Regions from separate parts of the Homo sapiens genome. Here region 2 is linked to region 1. The links are contacts of gene promoters, found by promoter capture Hi-C in human tissues and cell types (Jung and others, 2019). All regions are on one chromosome and are shown on one strand. The core of a region is centred on a gene start or on the middle of the fragment in contact, and the rest is flanking DNA. Distances in the headings are between cores, read along the strand shown. Region 1 holds the start of KRTAP13-2 (keratin associated protein 13-2). Region 2 overlaps LOC105372772 (a long non-coding RNA gene).

Region 1 (3,469 bases), core at 901-3,400:
AAGGATGAATAAAGCTGGCTTAAGGTACATGGGAATCAGAGGCTTCTGTGTTGCCAGGAGTTTCTTCCCGTGTTTCCCTTCTCTATTCTTCTAGTTTCTGTGGCGGCAGGTTTCTATGATCAGAGGATGTGGTTCCCACACTTCCATGCTTAGCCCGTATTGTCTCCATTATAAGAGAAAAGATACCCTCTTTTTTCAGGTTTAATTATAAAAAGCTTAAGGGAAAGGTGTCAGGGAAAAAAATCAATTAAAGCTCGTGACATATTATTGGAGGAAATGATAATCTTTCAAAGTTGTTTTCCCATTCATGGAGAGTTGTTATTGAATATTTTATGAAAAAGTTTTAGCTGAACTTTTACACTACCTTTAGCCTCTGAAAGAAATCACTTGCTTAAATTAAAATAAATAGAGAAGGTCTTATATCTCAGATGTGAATAGCATCCTACAAATATTTATTTTTATTCACACTGTCACAGCTGAGCAGTGGATTCCAAGGATACTGAGGGAGGTTATAAAATCTAGAACATTGAAAGTAATCTAATTTTAACTGCCACTCAATGCAGAAATCACTGAAAAGTAATATCTTTTTCCTTGTTGATAAACTCAATAATCCAAAGAAAACACAAAGGTCATAATAGTTCTATAAATTTATGATTTATAAATATACATTTAAAACAAGCCAAAGTATTTCTCCCTATAACTGTTTCCATTACTCACAGTTGTAAACCTTAAGTCTTTCTGTCTTCTGTGCTCTCTCTCTCTTTCTCACACACACACAACACAAACACACACACACACTGAATAATTAATTTTCTCCTATATTTAAACACAACCGTAATGTCCTCCAGTACCTAACATTTCATATTTTCCCTTTTCCATCATAACATTTCAGATTTATTCAAATATTTCATAATTTTATATTTAATCACCTAGTTGACATCTTCTGAGAAAACTCTAAATACTCTTTTAAAAATGTAAACAAAAAGCAAATATGATTGTCAGCAAAATGTGTCTTCCTTGAAAACACACCACCATTATGAGTGTACTCTCAATAATTCTGTTAAGAATCCAACCAGTTTTCATGGCAGAAGACATGCACTTGCTCAGTCTTTTAGGCACTGGCATGCCCGGAGAATCTCCCCACACACTAGGCCTGATGACATTACCGATGGAAATGGATGTCCAAGGAAAAGACGTCTGGGGGCCTGGAGCCCCCAAAACAGATCACAAATCAAACTTTGGAAACCAATAAAAGACAAAGAGAACATATTGGAATCAACAGTAAATGAATTTATTACGTGAAACAAAACTGAACTTCCATATACTTTATAAGATGAACTTACGTGATAACGAATCACTTGTTTCAAAATTATAGACATTTGACTCTATATTTTGCTCATTCATTAATTTCACAGTCTGAAAGAACTAGCCTGTCCAGCCAGTACTTGATGCCAGAGAAAGGATGAAGAGCTAGTAGTAAGAGGGGTTAGCTCACATTGCTGGAAATGCCTATGATAACAGCTCTACGTAGAGACTGAGACACTTTGCTTAAAAGGTCTGGAAATTCAGCAAGTTGATCTGCAGAAGGTTGATCCATAGGCTGGTCTGTAACAAGGAGACTGGCAGCTCCTAGAAGCCAAGTAGGTTGGGCGGCAGAATCCAGATCCATAGCCGAGGGAAGGGAAGCCACAGCTTCCATAACCCAGGGATCTGACACCACTGGACCCACAGCCCACTGAGTAGCAGCTCCTCGATCCATAGCCCAGGGAGCGGCAGCTGCTGGATCCAAAGCCTAGAGACCCAGAGTAAGTCGTCTTGCAAGGACTGCAGAGCAAGGAGGTTCTGGGGCGGTAGCAGGAGGTCTGGCAGGGGCTGGACTCCACATAGGACGTCTGGCAGCTGGTGGGCTCCCAGCAGATCTCCTGACAGCCCCTATAGAGAGAGGAACCCAGCTGGCAGGTGCTGGGAGAGCAGAGGTCAGTGCTGTAGACCAGATTGCTGGGGTAGGAAAAGCCACGTGAGGATGCTGGGTAGCGCAGGTAGTCACCACAGGAGCGGGAGGAGAAGTTTCCAGAGCAGCAGTTGTAGGACATGTTGACGGGAGATGTGAGTTCAGCTGAGTTATAGTGGAAAGATTCTCTGAGTTTGAATGTCATAGTCTGGACTCCAAGTTATATATGCTCTTAGACCTGGGTGTGTCCACTGTCTCGACACTCCCTTCTCCTTGCTCACTTTTTATTATAAGAATGCTTCCCTAGGTTATTGTTTAATTTATCACATCTTCATATACTTACTTGTACTTTAGTCACTCTGGAACACTTAGAAGGAAGCCACTCAGTTTTTTTTTTTCCTGGAATTCACTGTGGTTTGACCTTCAATGTTATATGTCATCACATTTATGAGTATCTTGCCTCTTATTATTTGAGTACAGTGAGTCCTTATTGTACCAAATGGAATTACACAAAATTCTTTCTTTACTTCCCTTAAGTTATCAGGAGCATCAGTGGTTACTACTCAAAATAGATTGTCCTTCTTTTTAACACAAGCATATTATTTGTTACCAGAAACGGAGGATTTCTCCAAATACTAACTGTATTCAGTAGCCTCAGCAATCTGTCAGTTAAACCTTTTACTAGTACCTTAAGAGCTCAGGATCAGAACTGAGGAGTGCAGCATTATGTTGGGTGTCCATATCAGGCATCTTCCTTAACAAGAGGCTACTTTAGACAATGCTCACTTAGGAAACAATAAACACAAACTTTTTAGTAAGACTTTAAATTGAAGTTTTTCAGATATTTTCTGATGAACCTATCTTGTAGCAAGCACTATTCTATGGTTATGCTCTAAATCAACTCATAAATTTTATTTTGTTTTATGTTTCAATTTTTTTTTCTGGATAAAAGGACAGATTCTTAGCTGCAATTATTAATTTATACTTAAACTTTGAGGAATTGTTAACATTTTTCTGAAGCTTTTAACTTGAAGTATTAGAGTTATATGGGTCTTTAAACATCCCCTGTTCAACCCATACATGGAAAAATTACCTCTCAGAGAGCTTTAACTTTCCCCTAATTTCTCAGTAAGATAGAAGCAAAATTGAAGCTTTAATTATGGTTTTCTTATTCAGAGTCAAGTTGCAAATACCTTGCAAATATAAAAGTAAATTCAACTTTAACTTGTCTCAGAAAAGAAACTATTAAGCTTATTTATACTAAGATATAAAAGCCTAACAAAGCCTTATTTACTTTTCCTAACAATATTCACACTGAATAGTGTTCAACTGGGGAATTCTATGCCTTACTGATCTTCATACATTTGAAGTATATTTCACTTCCTAGCCCAAGAAAGAGAAAGAATATTGGTAATCCATGTTTAGATTAATGGGGGGAAGAGGCTTCTTATCTGTGTCTATTCTTCTTCTTTTGAATTTGACATTTTATTTGGTTTAACTAAGGGAAATGGCATTCAC
Region 2 (3,601 bases), core at 1,016-3,515, 47 kb after region 1:
TGGGAAAGCCCTATAATTCTAATATGACTTAGTATATATTATTAATAATTATAATTGTCATTGTATGGCACAGAGGTAACCAAATTTCTCTGTCAATCATGTTTTTGACTGTGGCTGTCCTAAGACGTTTTGTCACCTACAGATAATTGTTGTCTCATTTTAGTCCTCTTTAGAAGGTGGTTTTATAGTCAGCTACAGAACTCCAACAGGTACACTTGAATACAGATTTCTGATAACTTTAGAGACTGTGACATCAGAACAGAGAAAACAACTTCCAGAAGTCTCATGGAGAGCTAAAATGTTCATGAATATCAAGCAGAACAGAAATTAACTTCATGGAATAAACTGAAGAAGTCTAAAGTAATCCGTTTATCTTTTTGCTTAAAACATTGCTGATTCTTTGTTTTGTTTTTCAGAATGAAGGAAATTTTTCTTTAGAGCTATTTACAGCCTTTGACAATTGAGTAGAGTATACTCCTGTGAACAAAATTTGGAGCATATTTGTTTCTCTCTAGCTGATTTCTCCAGAATTTGGAAACACATATTTGTGAGTATTCTTAATTTATGGTTATATGGTTATTTGCATAAGTTCAGTAAGAATCTGTTTTCTTTTGCAGCAGGACACCATTGGAGAAACTGGTTATTTTACCACAGCTTTGTCTGGAATGGTGTGTTTTCCTTTAAGGAATCAAACTTGACTTGTAAAGCCTATAAAAGCCCCTGGGAACCTGGCCTTACACCTTGTCTACCATAGTCCCTTATAGGGTTTGTGACCTGTGGTAAGTGAAGAATGTCACTCTCTAACAGGTCCAGGAGCCCCAAGTTATCTTGGGACCCCAAGAGGAGAGGAATTTACTCAACTCATAGATATTTGAAGGTGCAAACCCATGTCTGGGCTGGGCTCTTAAAAAGTCTTACCTACGAGTCCTTCTATGGAGCAGAGTTCCATCAAAGACAATTTAAAAAGAGTTTATGTAACAAAATAATTATTCTTTCTGCCATTTATACAAATAATCAGGCCAAGTATAATAAAGCCAATAAGTCTTATCATGATTTGTCTTTAGTAAAAATGAAAAACTGGAGAGAGAAATATTATGTTTCCAGAACTATGGTACAGTTGTTATTAAATTCTCATCTCATCAGTTGTTTATAACTTTGTTTCTGCAATGTAGGCTAACCCTACTTATTCTTGCGTACCAACCAGTGATCTCTAACTGCTGCTCAGAAAAAACAAGAAGGATGGGTAATGTAAAAATCTAAATCAGTTAATTCTGGGCACATTGCAAATAGCTAGCAACCCCACATCAGCTTGGTTCCACCTGTTGCCCAGTTCATGAAAAGTCTTCTAATTTAGTTTGTTTGGGATAATTTTACTTGTTTTGCTTTATTCTTGTGGAATATATTGCTGTTGTACTCTTGGTATAGGAATGCAGAATAAGCTTACTAAATGTTTTCTTAAATTGAACACTTAATTAATCTCCCAGATATCACCTTTTGTCAGAACTCAAGAGTTATAAATGACCCTCAGCATACCAACTCTTTCTAACTGAGCTCCTCTCTACCCTGAACACAAGAGACCCTAATGGTTAGGCAGGAATATCATCGCCCGTATTCAGCCTGAAGATGTTACAGAAGATGGATCTTCATCCCTCAGCAACCCTTAGGATTAAGAGTTTTCTTATAAAAGTGGGGGAAATAGCAGAGGTGTTTGAAGCAGAGCTACTCCATCTTGAATAGGAGCTGGGTTAAATAAGGGTGAGATCTACTGGGCTGCATTTCCAGATGGTTAAGGCACTCTAAGTCTCAGGATGAGACAGGAAGTTGGCACAAGATACAGGTTATAAAGACCTTGCTGATAAAACAGGTTGCAGTAAAGATGCCAGCTAAAACCCAGCAAAACCAAAATGGAGACGAGAGTGACCTCTGGTCATACTCACTGCTACATTCCCACCAGCGCCATGACAGTTTACGGATGCCATGGAAGCATCAGGAAGTTACCCTTTATGGTCTAAAAAGGGGAGACAGGAATAATTCACCCCTTGTCTAGCATATACTCAAGAAATTACCATAAAAATGGGCAACCAGCAGCCCTCGGGGCTGCTCTGCCTATGGAGTAGCCGTTCTTTTATTCCTTTGCTTTCCTAATAAACTTGCTTTCACTTTAAAGACTTGTCCTGAATTCTTTCTTGTGCAAGATCTAATAACTCTCTCTTGCGTCTGGATTGGGACCTCTTTCAGGTGTCCATCAGCAGTGGATTGGATAAAGAAAATATGGTACGTATACACGATGAAATACTTAGAGCCATAAAAAAGAACAAAATCAAGTTCTTTGCAACATCAGGAATGCAGCTGGAGGCTATCATCCTAAGTGAATTTAAAGCAGGAACAAAAAAAACAAATACCATATCTTGTTACTTACAAGTGGGAGTTAAACATTTGGTACTTATGGGCATGCAGATGGCTACAATAAACAATGGGAACTTCTAGAGTGGGGAGAGAAGAAAGGGGCAAGGATTAAAAACTGGTTGGGTACTATACTCAGTACCTAAGTGATGGGATCAATTGTACCCCAACCCTCAGCATCATGCAATATACCCATGTTATCAACCTGCACATGTGTCACTTGAATCTAAGATAAAAGTTGATTTTTTATTTTCAAAAAAGAAGGCGAACAATACATAGGAAATTACCAATACTAATAACTACTTTGGGAATACGTAAAAAAATTCAACTTTAGTATCAATAAAAATATAACAATAATGAGGGAAAAATAAACACTAAACAAAAGATTCCATGGGTATGGCCAATAAACATAAAAAAGGTGTATAAAAATCACTAGTCACCAAATAAATGCAACTTAAAACCACAGTGAGATGCCACTTAGCAAATGGCTGAAAGAAATATGGCAAATGTTGGTGACGATGGAGTTCGTAGGCGTCTAGGAAATTGCTGGTGGGATAGTAAAATAATGAAACTAACTTTGGAAAACTGTTTGGCAATTTCTAATTTAGTTGAGCATATGCCGACTCTATGGTCCAGAAATTTCATTCATGGTTTTCTTCCCCCCGAGAAAAAACTAAAAACATATGTTCACAAAAAGAAACTGGAACAATCAATATTCATTGTGCTCTATTTTTTAAATCTTGAGAAAATTTGATGTCAGTCAATAGATGAAAGAATACACACATTGTGATATTATTAACAAAAGGGAATATACGGCACCAATAAAATGAATAAAACATATCACCACATGAAGCTTTTCGAAAACATTAAGTTGAGTGAAAAAAGATGCATATGATAAAAAAAATGTATGATTTCATTTTTATGAAGTTCTAGAAGAAGCAAGTTAATGTATGGTGATAGCAATCACTACAGTAGCTGTGTCTGGGGTCAGGAATTGATTTAAGAAAGGAACATGAGTGAATTTTCTGGAGTGAAGAAATTTTCTGTATTTTGATCAGGTAGTCATTACACAGGTGTGTATATTCATCAAAGACAACAAGCTCTACCCTTTGAAATATGTGCATTTCATGGTATGTAAATATTGATTGAATAAAAAATATTATTTAAAAACAGAGGTATTCTTATAGATATACCTCTG

What was found. Contacts are between HindIII fragments. The study calls those that stand out against the background at their distance.
Region 2: a contact is called between a fragment that was not itself captured here and the fragment with the promoter of KRTAP13-2 in region 1, in 1 of the 25 tissues and cell types used here (heart right ventricle).

What each region holds. Positions count from the first base shown.
Region 1 is chr21:30,370,121-30,373,589 of GRCh38, forward strand. KRTAP13-2 (keratin associated protein 13-2) reads right to left here and starts at 2,151. Exons shown (of 1, transcript NM_181621.4): 1 at 1,270-2,151. The coding sequence starts at 2,093. The coding sequence ends at 1,566. The HindIII fragment of the contact is 3,845 bases long and covers 38-3,469 here.
Region 2 is chr21:30,417,018-30,420,618 of GRCh38, forward strand. The region is part of intron 3 of LOC105372772 (a long non-coding RNA gene); the gene reads right to left. Among named protein-coding and RNA genes, the nearest start is that of KRTAP13-3, 7.1 kb to the right of the region's middle. The HindIII fragment of the contact is 4,108 bases long and covers 212-3,601 here.